Regions from separate parts of the Homo sapiens genome. Here region 2 is linked to region 1. The links are contacts of gene promoters, found by promoter capture Hi-C in human tissues and cell types (Jung and others, 2019). All regions are on one chromosome and are shown on one strand. Each heading gives the region's core, a stretch centred on a gene start or on the middle of the fragment in contact. The rest is flanking DNA. Distances are from core to core; before and after follow the strand shown. Region 1 holds the start of IAH1 (isoamyl acetate hydrolyzing esterase 1 (putative)). Region 2 has its middle 12 kb from the start of TAF1B.

What was found. The method cuts DNA at HindIII sites, captures the fragments that hold promoters and counts their contacts. A contact is called where the count stands out against the background at its distance.
Region 2: a contact is called between a fragment that was not itself captured here and the fragment with the promoter of IAH1 in region 1, in 1 of the 25 tissues and cell types used here (spleen).

Annotation. Positions count from the first base shown.
Region 1 is chr2:9,470,317-9,477,139 of GRCh38, forward strand. It overlaps IAH1 (isoamyl acetate hydrolyzing esterase 1 (putative)), which reads left to right and starts at 4,235. Exons shown (of 6, transcript NM_001039613.3): 1 at 4,235-4,331; 2 at 5,671-5,723. The coding sequence starts at 4,251. CPSF3 (cleavage and polyadenylation specific factor 3) reads left to right here. Exons shown (of 18, transcript NM_016207.4): 17 at 1,027-1,123; 18 at 2,600-2,785. The coding sequence ends at 2,701. RefSeq lists a silencer at 4,007-4,776 and enhancers at 4,046-4,813, 5,294-5,854. The HindIII fragment of the contact is 18,322 bases long and covers 1-6,823 here.
Region 2 is chr2:9,827,658-9,834,480 of GRCh38, forward strand. No RefSeq gene overlaps it. Among named protein-coding and RNA genes, the nearest start is that of TAF1B, 12 kb to the right of the region's middle. RefSeq lists an enhancer at 2,415-2,954. The HindIII fragment of the contact is 4,516 bases long and covers 553-5,068 here.

The DNA of each region.
Region 1 (6,823 bases), core at 2,985-5,484:
TGCAAGGAGTTGATTCCCACTCCCCACTTCCCCCGCTTAATACAGTGTTGTCAGTGCTTAACTGTCCTAGGCTGACCATGGTCCATGGGTTGTTTAGAGTCACTGCCTGCCTTTCTTACCTGCATTCAGCCTGCTGGTGGACTGCTGTTTCCTAACACCTCTGTACCAATGGGGACGATGTTGAAATTAACCATCAAAACTGTTTCTCTCGATGACAGAGGCAATGTCTTAGTGCCTTCTTTATCCCCAGCTACTAGCACAGAAGGAATCTGCCACACAGAAGATGCTCAATAAATACCAAGTTTAATTAAAGTAGGAGTGCACAGCTAGTGGGCTTGGGAGCCATTTAAACCTAGATACCTGGATTTGAATGCCGGCTCAGCTGTTTACTAGCTGTGAGGCTTTAAGCAAATCACTTAACTTCTGTGTCTTGTTTTCTTCACATGTAAAAGGGGATCCTTACTAAAATTATAGGTTAAGATAATGTATATAAACCACCTAGCATGATGCCTGCTGAATAGATCATTCTTGAATAAAGCTGTGTATTTTCCCTGTTTTATAAACTTAATAAGCTGTATCAAGGCAAATAAGAAGCTTGTCTCAAAAGTAAATACAGGCTGGGCATGGTGACTCCTGCCTGTAATCCCAACACTTTGGGAGGCCAAGGCAGGTGGATCACTTGAGGCTAGGAGTTCAAGACCAGCCTGGCCAACATGGTGAAACCCTGACTCTACTAAAAATACAAAAATTAGCTGGCTGTGGTGGTGCACACCTGTAATCCCAGCTACTAGGGAGGCTGAGGCAGGAGAATCACTTGAATCCGGGAGGCGGAGGTTGTAGTGAGCCAAGATTGTGCCACTGCGCTCCAGCCTGGGCCACAGAGCAAGACTCCATCTCAAAAAAAAAAAGAAAAAAAGTAAATACAGTATTCTGCTTTAGAACTAGGACCTATCTTCAGTTTTATTTTTTCCTCAAATATATAAAGCCGGGCATTTTCACTAATCCTGCATTTCTGCTTATTTTCAGGGACATATTTGGAGAAGACTGTGTAAGTGTAAAGGATGACTCTATTCTTAGCGTCACAGTGGACGGGAAAACTGCCAACCTTAACTTGGAGACACGGGTATGTAGCTGCTCTTTCCTACGTTTCAAGACATTTGGGAAATAAAGTGAAGGCATAAATAATCTGTGCTCTCACACTCAACAGTCTACTGTTGCATATTGGCATTTGCTTCCAGTGTTTCCAACATTTTTTTCACATTGTTCTTTTTATATTATTATGGTTGAAGTTTTCCGTGTTTTTCCGGGTTACTGCATAGTACAAGGTTCGCGTGTATGCCACTCCATTGCTGTCCTCTTCCATAATACAGCTTAGTTCACCTCATCCCTTCTCTAGTTTGGCATCTAGTTGACTCTCCATTTTTTAAAGAAGCCGCTCTTCTGTTTGCACCAGCAAGATCCAAGTGGATTTTCCAAACAGTTCAAAACCAGCCCGGGCAACACAGTTAAACCCCATCTCTACTAAAAAATACAAAAAAAATTAGCCGGGAATGGCGGCAGCTGCCTGTAGTCCCAGCTACTCAGGAGGCTGAGGCAGGAGAATTGCTTGAAACAGGGAGGCAGAGGTTGCAGTGAGCCAAGATCACATTACTGCACTCCAGCCTGGATGATAGAGCGAGACTCTGTCTCCAAAAAAAAAAAAAAAAAGAACTAGAGGCCAGGCGTGGTGGTTCACGCCTGTAATCCCAACACTTTGGGAGGTCAAGGTGGGTGGATCATCTGAGGTCAAGAGTTTGAGACCAGCCTGGCCAACATGATGAAACCCCATCTCTACTAAAAATACAAAAATTACCCAGGCGTGGTGGTGTGCCTGTAATCCCAGCTACTTGGGAGGCTAAGGCAGGAGAACCCAGGAATCACCTTAACCCAAGAGACAGAGGTTGCAGTGAGCTGAGATCACATCACTGCACTCCAGCCTGGGCGACAGAGCGAGATTCTGTCTCAAAAAAAAAAAAAAAAAGAAGCAACTAGAAGATTATTAGTGAGTTTCAGTCAAATTCAGTACCAAATGTTGAGTAGATAGCCACATCCATTCCTTGCCAAGTAATTTGTGTGGCATAGATGAACTTCCCTGGAGTATCATTTACTAGATCAAACTGTGGGCTTTGATGTAAATGTAGTTTACTAGACTTTCCCCAGTCTTTCACCCCAGCCTCAAGTCATCACTAATTAGGACCGTGCTGCTGTCAGGAAGCACTGCACGCCCACAAGTGTGTAGGGCGGCCGTTCTGTTTCATGGTAATCAGTCCCACCATGACCTCTGCACACACAGATGATTGTTCTTTTTTTTAGTTTGAGACCCGGTCTCGCAGTGCCGCCCAGGCTGGAGTGCAGTGGTGCAGTCACAGCTCACTGCAGCCTCAACCTTCCCGGCTCAGTGATCCTCCCACCTCAGACTCTTATCTGGGACCACAGGCACACGCCACCACAGCTGGCTAATTTTTTATGAGATGATGGTTTTTTTAAAGAGTATTCATTTATCTTCTATATAATCATTATAGACTTAATTCTAACAGTCTTGTTTGTGCCTCACTTTCAGACTGTAGAATGTGAAGAGGGAAGTGAAGACGATGAATCCCTCCGAGAAATGGTGGAGCTGGCTGCACAGAGACTGTACGAGGCCCTGACGCCAGTTCACTGAGACTGTGCCTGTATATGAACTTTGAAAAAATACTTGACTCTACTTTTGTTACCTAAAATAAAATGCATTCGTTTCTCTGGGGGAGCCTGTTTACTTTTAATGTCAAATGGCCTTTATTTCAACAGCCTGAATACTGCTAAATTGCTAATTAATTTGTCCATTATTCTAGAACTAACTACTAGATCAACTGCCCATTATTTTAGAATTTTGGATTCTTCTTCCAGGCATGTATGTGCAGCTCCCATTGAAACCATCAAGATCTGCCGATAGCAACCGCTGCTGGTTACCCTCTCCTCTGGGGTAACCAATTTGAGTTAATAATAAGGATTCTAAGTTGCACTTGAATCTTTTCTGTCTTCATCTCCACTGCTGCTGTTCGAGTCCAAGTCTACTCTCCCCTCTGAATTCCTGCAACCACCTCCATCTCCTCCCCTATAGCTGATTCCTGGAACAGACCTGGCCTCAAGCCTCTGCTGCTTGAAGGCCTTAATGAAGTCCTTGTGATAAAGATGAAGTCCAGGCACCTTTGCTTGCTCTAGCAGGGGCTCTCAATCTGGGCTACCCGTGGGAATCACGTGGGGTGCATCACAAGTGCACCTGTGCCCAAGTCCTGCCACCAGGAGGTGAGTTAGTCCGGCTGGAATGAGGGCCCTAGGTTGGATCTTAGTTGTAAAGCTCCCCCAGGTGATCCAAGCGAGCTTGGGACGAGCAACCTAAAGAAAGTCATGCTCTACGCCCATCGCCCCGCCCCAGGGAGCGGGGTCGGCCTCTGCGCCGGCGCCCCTGGCCCTTCTGTTACTCATCTACAGCTCCGTGATTTCAAGGCATCCTTCCCACCCGTTCGTTTTTAGCTCGGCTGCCGAACTTCATTGCACAGTTGAGGTAAGAACGTTGCATTACAACCACGTTTTAACAGGTGAATCCCTTGGAAGTTAGTCAGTGCTCCGTGTCCGCGGGGTTCTGCATCTGCGCATCCACCCCACGGCGGGAAAAAGAAAAGCGGCCGGCTGCGCGCGCACTGAAGGTGCAGCTGCTTTCCCTTGTCATTCGCAGAACCACGAGGTACTGCCAGGGTTTCCGCAGTGCCTGCGTCCTCGTGGGTGTTACAGGCCCTCCAGAGTGACGCTGGGCGCAGGAGGCCGCGCGCGCATCCCACGACCTCTTCCAGGGGGGCCTGGAGCAGCCCTCCGCCCCACCGAGAGCCAGCTGTGCTTCCCGCCGCGCGTCCTGAGGTCACACTCCTGCCCTTTGCCGAACGCACCTGCGCCCGCGGAGCGCGGGGTGGGCTTAGAAGGGCCCCCAACCGCTTTTCTTCCGGGAACCACGCAGCGGGACGCGGGCTCCGGACTCCCTGGGGGCAGCCTTGCTGTGGGTGAGCAAGCGCGGAGGCCGAGCTTCTTGCAAACGGACTCCAAGGGGCAACGACCTTCGCGCGTCACCAAAGTGACTGCGTGGGTGCCCACGAGCCCGGCTCCCGCAACCCACGGGCGGCCACTGCGCAGGCGCCTCTCGTGGCTGGCGGCCCCGCCCCGCCCCGCCCGGCTGCTCCATGGCGCTGTGCGAGGCCGCGGGCTGCGGGAGTGCCCTGCTCTGGCCTCGCTTGTTGCTCTTCGGGGACTCCATCACCCAGGTACGGCCGCCCCGACGCTCGGCCTCCCGCCCCGGCCTCCCTGCGGGGTCGCTGCCGAGCAGGCCGAGGCTCCTCGCCGTCCTCTTCGGCGCCCGAGACGGCTGGGCCGGAGGCCTGGCCACGCCCGTGGAGACACCGGAGGAGTGGCGGGTCCCCCAGTGGCTGCGCCTTCCGGGCCCGCGGCGTCCCGGAGGTCACGACGGCGTCCGCGAGAGCCCGGGCTCCAGGCACAGACGCGAGGGGACCCGGCCGCGCTGCCCGCCCCGCGCCGCCTCCCACCCGGGTCGAGATGCGCGGTCTTCCCCTCAGCGCCCTCCTGGGCAGCGGCCTTTCCCCTCCGGGTCCGGGTTAGCGGCCGCGGGCGACCGCGCGCTGTGTCCCAGGAGGCCCCGCGGCCAGCTCCGGGCAGAGGCGCCAGGAGCTCTCTCGCCCCATTCCCTGCGGGCACAGGTGGGGCCGTTAGGGGTTGACCTTGGAAGTAAAACGCCTTCAGGAATTAGGTAGAAAAGGACCATCCGTTCATCCAAGATCATCTCACCTCCCATGAAGGGAACGGTCTTCTAAATGCAGGTTCTTACTTCGGGGAGGGAGTAGAAATTCCATTCCTGTGTGTGTCCTCTTCTCAGACAGGACTTGCTTCACCAGGCTTTTGTGTATACGCCAGTAACTGGTAACATTATGTTTAGGCATATGGGGCAGTCAGAGCTGCCGAATTCCATGGGAATGTGTATGAAAAAGTGTTCACCCTCAGCTCGGTAACCAGCAAAGCAGTGAGGCGGTGTGGCCTTCATTTCCTCACTGACCTTTGACTTTATTTCCTGAACTTAGATTTCTGTTTAGCTTTTTTTTTTTTTTCTTTTTTTCTTTTTTTGAGACGGAGTCTCGCTCTGTCGCCCAGACTGGAGTGCAGTAGCGCGATCTCGGCTCACTGCAAGCTCCGCCTCCCGGATTCAAGCGTTTCTCCTGCCTCAGCCTCCCGAGTAGCTGGGATTATAGACGTGCGCCACCACACCGGGCTAATTTTTGTAATTTTAGTAGAGACGGGGTTTCGCCATGTTGACCAGGCTGGTCTCGAACTCGAGACCTCATGTGATCCGCCCGCCTTGGCCTCCCAAAGTGCTGGGAATACAGGCTGTTTAGCTTTTGATAGAGAAAAATCCCCCTCTGCTAAAGTGCTGCCAGGTGTACTTACCTGTAATCCCCAAAATGACCTCCTGGAGTGAAGCAATCAAAGCCAAGAAGGGAGCGCCGAGAAAACAGAAGTTGCCAATCAGAACTGCCCTCGCTGAGATGCCCGGTTACAGTCATTAGTAGTAATAATGGGCTTTTCTTCCTCCAGTTTTCCTTCCAGCAGGGTGGATGGGGAGCATCGCTGGCTGACAGGCTGGTCAGGTGAGAATGGTTTCCGATACTTGAGTTCTTATGGATGGAAAATGTCTTAGGGATCCGTCTTATGGATGAAGGATAGTTCTGAACAGAACATTCCTCCTTTATTAATTTTGCTTGCCTCCCCTAATCAGTATATAGGAGAAGGAACAGAAAACATTTACTCTTCACTCAGTCTGACCAATTAGATATTTTAGGGTTGAGCACTGATGGCTGGGTAGACTCAGACAAATCAAGGAAATGGCCAAGGCCTCTTCCCTAGTCAGGGGCAGACAGATCCAAGTCCAGCTGCTATGACTGCAGAACTTGCAGTTTCACTGCTACACCACACTGGTAGGAAGCTACTTTGCCTTTTTTTGAAGTGCTGCCATGACTTAAGACTCACCTTGTCACAATTCTACCGCACTTTGTTTTGGTTTTTGGTGGTTTTTGTTTTGCGACAGGGTCTCTTGTTAGGCGCGTCCACGTGAAGAGACCACCAAACAGGCTTTGTGTGAGCAACAAGGCTGTTTATTCACTTGGGTGCAAGTGGGCTGAGTCTGAAAAGAGCAAAGGGAGATGGGTAGGGCAGTACTATAGGATTTGGGTAGGTAGTGGAAAATTACAGTTAAAGGTGGTTATCTATTGTTAGCAGGGGAAGGGGGTCACAAGGTGCTCTGTGGGGAGCTCCTGAGACTCATTGTCCAGGGGAGGAATGCCACAAGGTCGATTGATTAGTTAGGGTGGGGCAGGAACAAATCACAATGGTGGAATGTCATCAGTTAAGGCAGGAACTGGCTGTTTCACTCCTTTTGTGGTTCTTCAGTTGCTCCAGGCCACCTGGATGTATACGTGCAGGTAACAGGTTATGACGGCTTAGCTTGGGCTCAGAGGCCTGACAACTCTGTCACACAGGCTTGAGTGCAGCAGTGTGATCAGGGCTCACTGCAGCCTCCACCTCTGGGGCTGAAGGCATCATCACCTCAGCCTCCTGAGTAGCTGGGACCAACAGGCACTCGCTACCACACCCAGCCCAGCACTTCATTAAAGTATTGTGATTTCACTCTGTAAAATGGCTAGTCGCATTTTATAATCATTACACACACAAACAATCTCTTAGAAATAAG
Region 2 (6,823 bases), core at 1,561-4,060, 360 kb after region 1:
GGCAAGTCTCATTGGCTTGTACCAGACTATATAAATGACTTGTACCAGAATATATAAAGAATTCTCATGGCTGGGCATGGTGGCTCATGCCCGTAATCCCAGCCCTTTGGGAGACTGAGGTGGGCAGATCACCTGAGGTCAGGAGTTTGAGACCAGCTTGGCCAACATGATGAAACCCCGTCCTACTAAAAATACGAAAATTAGCCTGGTGTGGTGGTGCGTGCCTGTAATCCCAGCTACTTGAGAGGCTGAGGTGGGAGAATCACTTGAACCCAGGAGGCAGAGGTTGCAGTGAGCCAAGATCACACCACTGCACTCCATCCTAGGCAACAAAGTGAGACTGTCTCAAAAAAAAAAAAAAAAAGAATTCTCACAACACAGTAATGATAAAAGACAATTAAAATTGTGTATAAGATTTGAGCAGATATTTTATCAAAAAAAATCACAGATGTCGAATAAGCACATGAAAAAAATGCTGAACATCATTAGTCATTAGGGAAATGTAAATTTAAACCAAAAGGAGATACCACTACATACACACTGAAATGGATGACATTCAAAAGATTGATAATGCCAAGCATTAGAATGGAACAACTTGAACTCTCATACACTGCTGAATACAAAACTGTACAATCATTTTAGAAAACAGCTTAGCCTAGGCTGGCACAAGGGCTCATGCCTGTAATCTCAGCATTTGGGAGGCTGAGGCAGGAGGATCGCTTGAGCCCAGGAGTTCAAGACCAGCATAGGCAACATAGACAGACCCTGTCTCTACAAAAAAAAAAAAAAAAAAAAAAATTAAAATAAAAAATTAGCTGGGCATGGTGGCACATGCCTGTAGTCTTAGCTACTCAGGAGGCTGAGGTAGAGGCATTGCTTGAGGCCAGGAGGGCTAGGCTGCAATGAGCCGTGATTGCACCACTGCACTCCAGCCTGGGTGGACAGAGTGAGATGCTGTCCCAAAAAAAAAAAAAAAAAAAAAAAAGTAAGAAAAAAAAAGAAGAAAAAGAAAAGAAGGGAAAGGAGAGGAGGGGAGGGGAGGGGATGGAAGAGGAGGAGAGGAGAGGAGAGGACAGGACAGGACAGGACAGGAAAGGAAAGGAAAGCAAAGCAAAGGAAAGGAAAGGAAAGGAGAGAAGTTTAGCATTCACTTATAAAGTTAACTATTCACTTACCATATGACTTGGAAATTCTATTCTTAAATATTTTCTCAAGTGTAGTGAAAACATGTCTACACAGAGATTTGTGCCTGAGTTTTCACAGCAGCTTTGTTCAGAGTAGCCACTGGAAGTGATCCAAATGTCCATCAGTTGGTAAATAGATAAAGAAAAATTACTAAGTGGAATACTACTCAGCAATTAATAGGTATGAGCTGATACATGCAGCAAAATAGATGAATTGCAAAGCACTACTAAGGCAAAAAAGACAACTCCCTGTATGCGCCCACTACATGAAGTTCTAGAAAAGGCAAACCTATAGTGATAGCAGATCAGTAGTTGCTAGCAGTTACGGGATTGGGTATAGAATTTAAAATTACATTTTTGGTACTGGTGGCACTGCTGTATACAGATGTCAAAACTCATCATTGTACACCTAAAATCGGTCAATGTTGTTGTATATAAATTCTACTTCTGCTGACATTTGAATTCCTCTTTGTCTACTTTTTTGTCATTCCTCTAGCCACTTAGCTGCTTCACATTTAAAGGTTCAGGACTGCCATGTCTGCTGTTACAAGGATAGAGTTTGTGTTTCTGTTTAGTTACTTTTCTTATTTTGGGGTAATTTTTCAGAGAAAAAATAAGTGGGAACATTTTTCCCTCATCATCTTAAATTTGGAAGTCCTATAGATGTTAGTTAAAGTCGTGGGGCTGGAGTTATCCCTATTCCTTCGCATATTCATGGACATTTTGAGACTGTGAATGAGTTCCCACAATGATGAATAAGGTCTCTGATCTCCCATATCTCCCCACTTCCTCTTCACCATCCCCCCAATATAGTTATAAAACAGTGTTAGTTATATCAGTAGTTAGGATATACTTTATTATGATTGTGCAGATGTCATTCACTAGAAAACCAGTAACTTAATGCCCATAACACCTTTCTTCCTCAGTTCTTCATTTTTACTAGAGTTGTTCATTTGCCACCTTTTTTTCATTTGTCTGATTTTCTACACACCCACCATTAATTTTTCCTAATGCCCCAACAAGTCAGCCTCAACTCCATCAGTAATGTTTTCCATTATCTCAAACATCGCATATATTCCTCTAATTCCCAGAGACCTCTTTCTCAGAGCCAGCCTTTCTTCCATTTATTCTGTTGAGACTGGATGCTGGGTGGATGTCATTCTGGTTTCTAGTCCCCATCATCCTGGGGGTTCATCCATATTTTGGATCTCTTGCTTCCTGATATCTTGGTCCATGTGTTCTTTTCTTGGTTACTCCCTTGTTTTTTGTTTGTTTGTTTTTTGTTTTGTTTGTTTGAGATGGAGTCTCGCTCTGTCACCAGACTGGAGTACAGAGGCGCAATCTCGGCTCACTGCAACCTCCGCCTCCCAGGTTCAAGTGATTCTCCTGCCTCAGCCTCCTGAGTAGCTGGGACTACAGGCACACACCAACATGCCCAGCTAATTTTTGTATTTTTATTAGAGACGGGGTTTCACCATGTTGACCAGGCTGGTCTCAAACTCCTGACCTTGTGATCCACCCACCTCGGTCTCCCAAAGTGCTGGGATTACAGGCGTGAGTCACTGTGCCCAGCCCTAGACTTTTATTTAAAATGAGACTTCTGTGGCTCTGTTACTCTCCTTCCTGGAAGGGAGGGAGGAGCAAGACCGGTTTGCCCCAAGCCTATAAATGGAATAAACCAGTCCCCAACAGGTTCTGCAACTTGCCTGAGATCTTATCGCTCCTGAGTTTGGGAAACTCTTGAGTTATTTAAGCCACACTCTTAGAAGGTTGTTTTGCTTCTGTTTAATTGGGGCTGTGCCTTCTGGCTGTTGAGCTCCTTTGACAAAGTGATTTTGCATCCAGAGTACTTTATTCATTCATCCATTCATTCACTAAAAAAACCTTTATTAAGCACTTGGTCTGTTAGCAGAAAAAGTAGGCTCTTTGGAACAGGCAGAACTGAGTTAAGTTCCCTCTTGGCCTCTTGCTGGTTGGGTGACCTGATTAGTCCTCCTGAGCCTCAGTTTCCTTTACTGTTTAATGACAACAGTTAAGAGATCATTTGGGTAATGGGCCTGGTACAGTGCCTGACAGAGTCTGTGCCTAGCAAATACGCACTCCTTATCCTTCCCCAGGGCTATGCAAACTGCAAGTGGTTTCAGTTTCAGTTATGGGCAGACCAGGCTACCAGCAGGCCTTGGAGCGCCTGGAGGATCCATTCAGAGGGCAAGTGCTGGATACTCTCTTCTCTCTAGCAGGAACATGGAGGGTGGATGAGAAGCAGCAAGGATGATGTTTGCTTTCTGGATCATCCCTGTGCCTTGTGATTAGCATTTAATAGGCTCCCAGAAAGCTTTGAAGATAATCATATGTCTACCCCTCCCTTTTGACTGATGATCTTGACGTGATATACGCTTATGTCAGTGAGGAAATAGGGAGGCTCTTGCAATGAGCCAAGAGTTGCTCTTTAGCTTTCAAAAACGTAAAGTCTAGTGAAAATTCAGCCCACAATGGAGTGGCACAGGAATTTGTCTTCAGAAATGCCTCCTCCACAAAGCTGTTTTGTGGGAATGAACAGGGGATGATATGGTAAAATAAGCCTAATGACAATTTATGGTCTTTATACCTCACTTTTCCGTGTACAAAGTTTTGACAAAGCCCTTGTATATCCATCATCCCATTCGTGCCTTCAAGCCCCATAAGGTGGTTTGATAAAGTTATCACCCCCATACTGCAGATAAGAAAACTGAGACTCACTGAAGCGATTTGTCCAGGCCATATAGCTAGCAGGGAAGTAGGAGGGCCAGGACTTAAATCTACTCTCTTGAGTCCAGAGACCCTGCTCTGCTGCCTCAAGGTAGCATTTAGCTATTGCCACACCTCTTTAGCTAAACTTTTAGCTGACTTGTCCTGAGTTCTAAGTCCTGGGATGTTGGCAATATCAGGGGGTGAGGAGGAGGCAGTGGGACCAGCTCCAATGTGGCCACACCTGAATATCAGGGTATCAGGGATGCAGCCTAGCTGAGTTGTGGCCACATTCCTTGAATTCCCGTGACCTGGTCACATAAGAATAATGCAGCCCCTGGGGTGGTCTCATCAGAGCCAGATCTATCCGTCTCACCACTCAAGGGCTCACTCCTGTAATTCTGCCTCTCTCCAACGTAACCCACGATTGATTTCCACTAGCATACAAAATGCTGCAGTCGTTCATATTCCCTTCAGCTCCTTTCCGCTCTTGCCCAAGTTTCTGCTCCCCCTTTCAGGGAGTTGTCACCACTTGTGTCCCCTTTCCCTCCTCCCATTCTGCCTTAAACCTGTTCCAATTAAACTTTCATCCTTATCACTTTCCTGAAATCACCGTGTCAATGCTGTGTATCTTGCTGAGTCCTATGCTGAACTCACTCAAACTCTTAATAGCATTTGACATTTCTTTCTTCTTGAAACTTGCTTCATGTGGCTTCCGGTCACCACACTCCTCTGGTTCTCTTCCTTCTCCATCATCTTTGCTGGATGCTTCTGCTGTCCCTGACATCTAATGCTATGGTGTCCTGTGACTTAGCCCTGGGCTGTCTTCTCCCACCTGCCATCTACCCTCACTTCCTAGGTGTCTTCACTTTGTCCATGGCTTTATATTCCCCATAGACACTGATGACTTCCAAATTCATATCTCCAGCCAGAACATCTCCTTGGAATTCCAGACTCATGTGTTGACTTCCTCCTCAATATTTTCTCTTGTATTTCCAATAGACATGTCAAATTTTGTCCCAAATCTTGAGTTTTCACCCCAATATCTGCTCACAGTGATCTTGTAGTCTCCTCCACTCACTACAGCATGGCATCCTTGATTCCTCTCTTTTGCTCACAACTACATCCAGTCCATTGTTGGCTCTACCTTCAAAACACATCTGTTTCTCATTGCCCTTCTCTAGTGTCCTAACAGGCACCACATACATCTTTAGGCTGGATTCCTGGTACAGCCTCCCAATTACTCATCTCCATTGTGCCCTTATCCTTTATAGTCAGCCTGAGTAGGCGTAAATCAGACTGCATCATTCCTCTGCTCAAAATCCTTCAATGACTTTTCCACTGACTTAGAATTAGATCAAAATACCTAACCATGGTCCCAGACAGAATATTCAAAATACCCATATTTAACAACTGGTAGAGGAATGCATAGTCATATATAAGTTTCTATATAAATCAAAAATTTTAAATATATTATCTTCTATTTTCCAAATGAACCAAACTATATTTATCTATATAATAAAGCTGCTGGCTGGGTGTGGTGGCTTACACCTGTAATCCCAGCACCTTGGGAGGCCGAGGCGGGAGGATCACTTGAGGTCAGGAGTTCAAGGCCGGCCTGGCCAACATGGGGAAACCCTGTCTCTACTAAAAATACAAAAATTAGCTGGGCGTGGTGGCACAAGCCTGTAATCCCAGCTACTCCAGAGGCTGAGGCAGGAGTATCGCTGGAACTCAGGAGGCAGAGGTTGCAGTAAGCCGAGATTGTGCCACTGCATTCTAGCCTGGGTGACAGAGCAAGACTCCATCTCAAAAGAAAAAAAGAAAAAAAAACTGCTTACAAAATGATATTAATATAACACAGAGCACACATCAAATCAGCCTAATACTCTAAGTCATTTATTGGTTTTCAGAAATAATTGGTGTGAACAGTGAACAATCTGAAAAAGAAATCAAAAAACCAATCCCATTTACAATATTCAAACAAAATTAAATACCTAGGAGTTAACCAAAGAAGTAAAAGATCTCTATAATGTAAACTATAAAACACTGATGAAAGGAATTGACGAGGACACCAAAAAATGGAGGCATACTCTATGTTCATGGATTGGAAGAATCAATATTGTTAAAATGTCCATACTACCCAAAGCAATCTACAGATTCAATGCAATCTCTATCAAAATACCAATGACATTCTTCACAGAAATAGAAATAACTGTCCTAAAATTTATATGGAACCACAAAAGACCCAGAATGCCAAAGCTATCCTAAGCAAAAAGGACAAAGCTGGAGGAATCACATTAACTGACTTCAAATTATACTACAGAGCTATTGTAATCAAAATAGCATGCTATTAGCATAAAAACACTCACATAGCCCAACAGAACAGAATAGAGAACCCAGAAACAAATCCACACACCTACAGCAAACTAATTTTTGACAAAGGGGCCTAGAACATACACTGAGGAAAAGACAGTCTCTTCAATAAAGAACAAAACTAGACCCCTATCTCTCACCACATACAAAAATCAAATTGAAATGGATTAAAGACTTAAATCTGAGACCTCAAACTATGAAACTACTAAAAGAAAACATTGGGGAAACTCTCCAGGACATTGGTCTTGGCAAAAATTTCTTGATTAATACCCCACAAGCACAGGCAACCAAAGCAAAGATGGACAAATTGGATCACATCAAATTAAAAAGCTTCTGCACAGCAAAGGAAACAATCAACAAAGTGAAGAGACAACCCACAGAATGGGAGAAAATATTTGCAAACTATCCATCTGACAAGTGATTATTAGCCAGAATACATAAGGAGCTCAAACAACTCTATAGGAAAAAAATTCTAATAATCCAATAAAGAAATTGGCAAAATATTTTAATAGACATTTCTCAAAAGAAAACATACA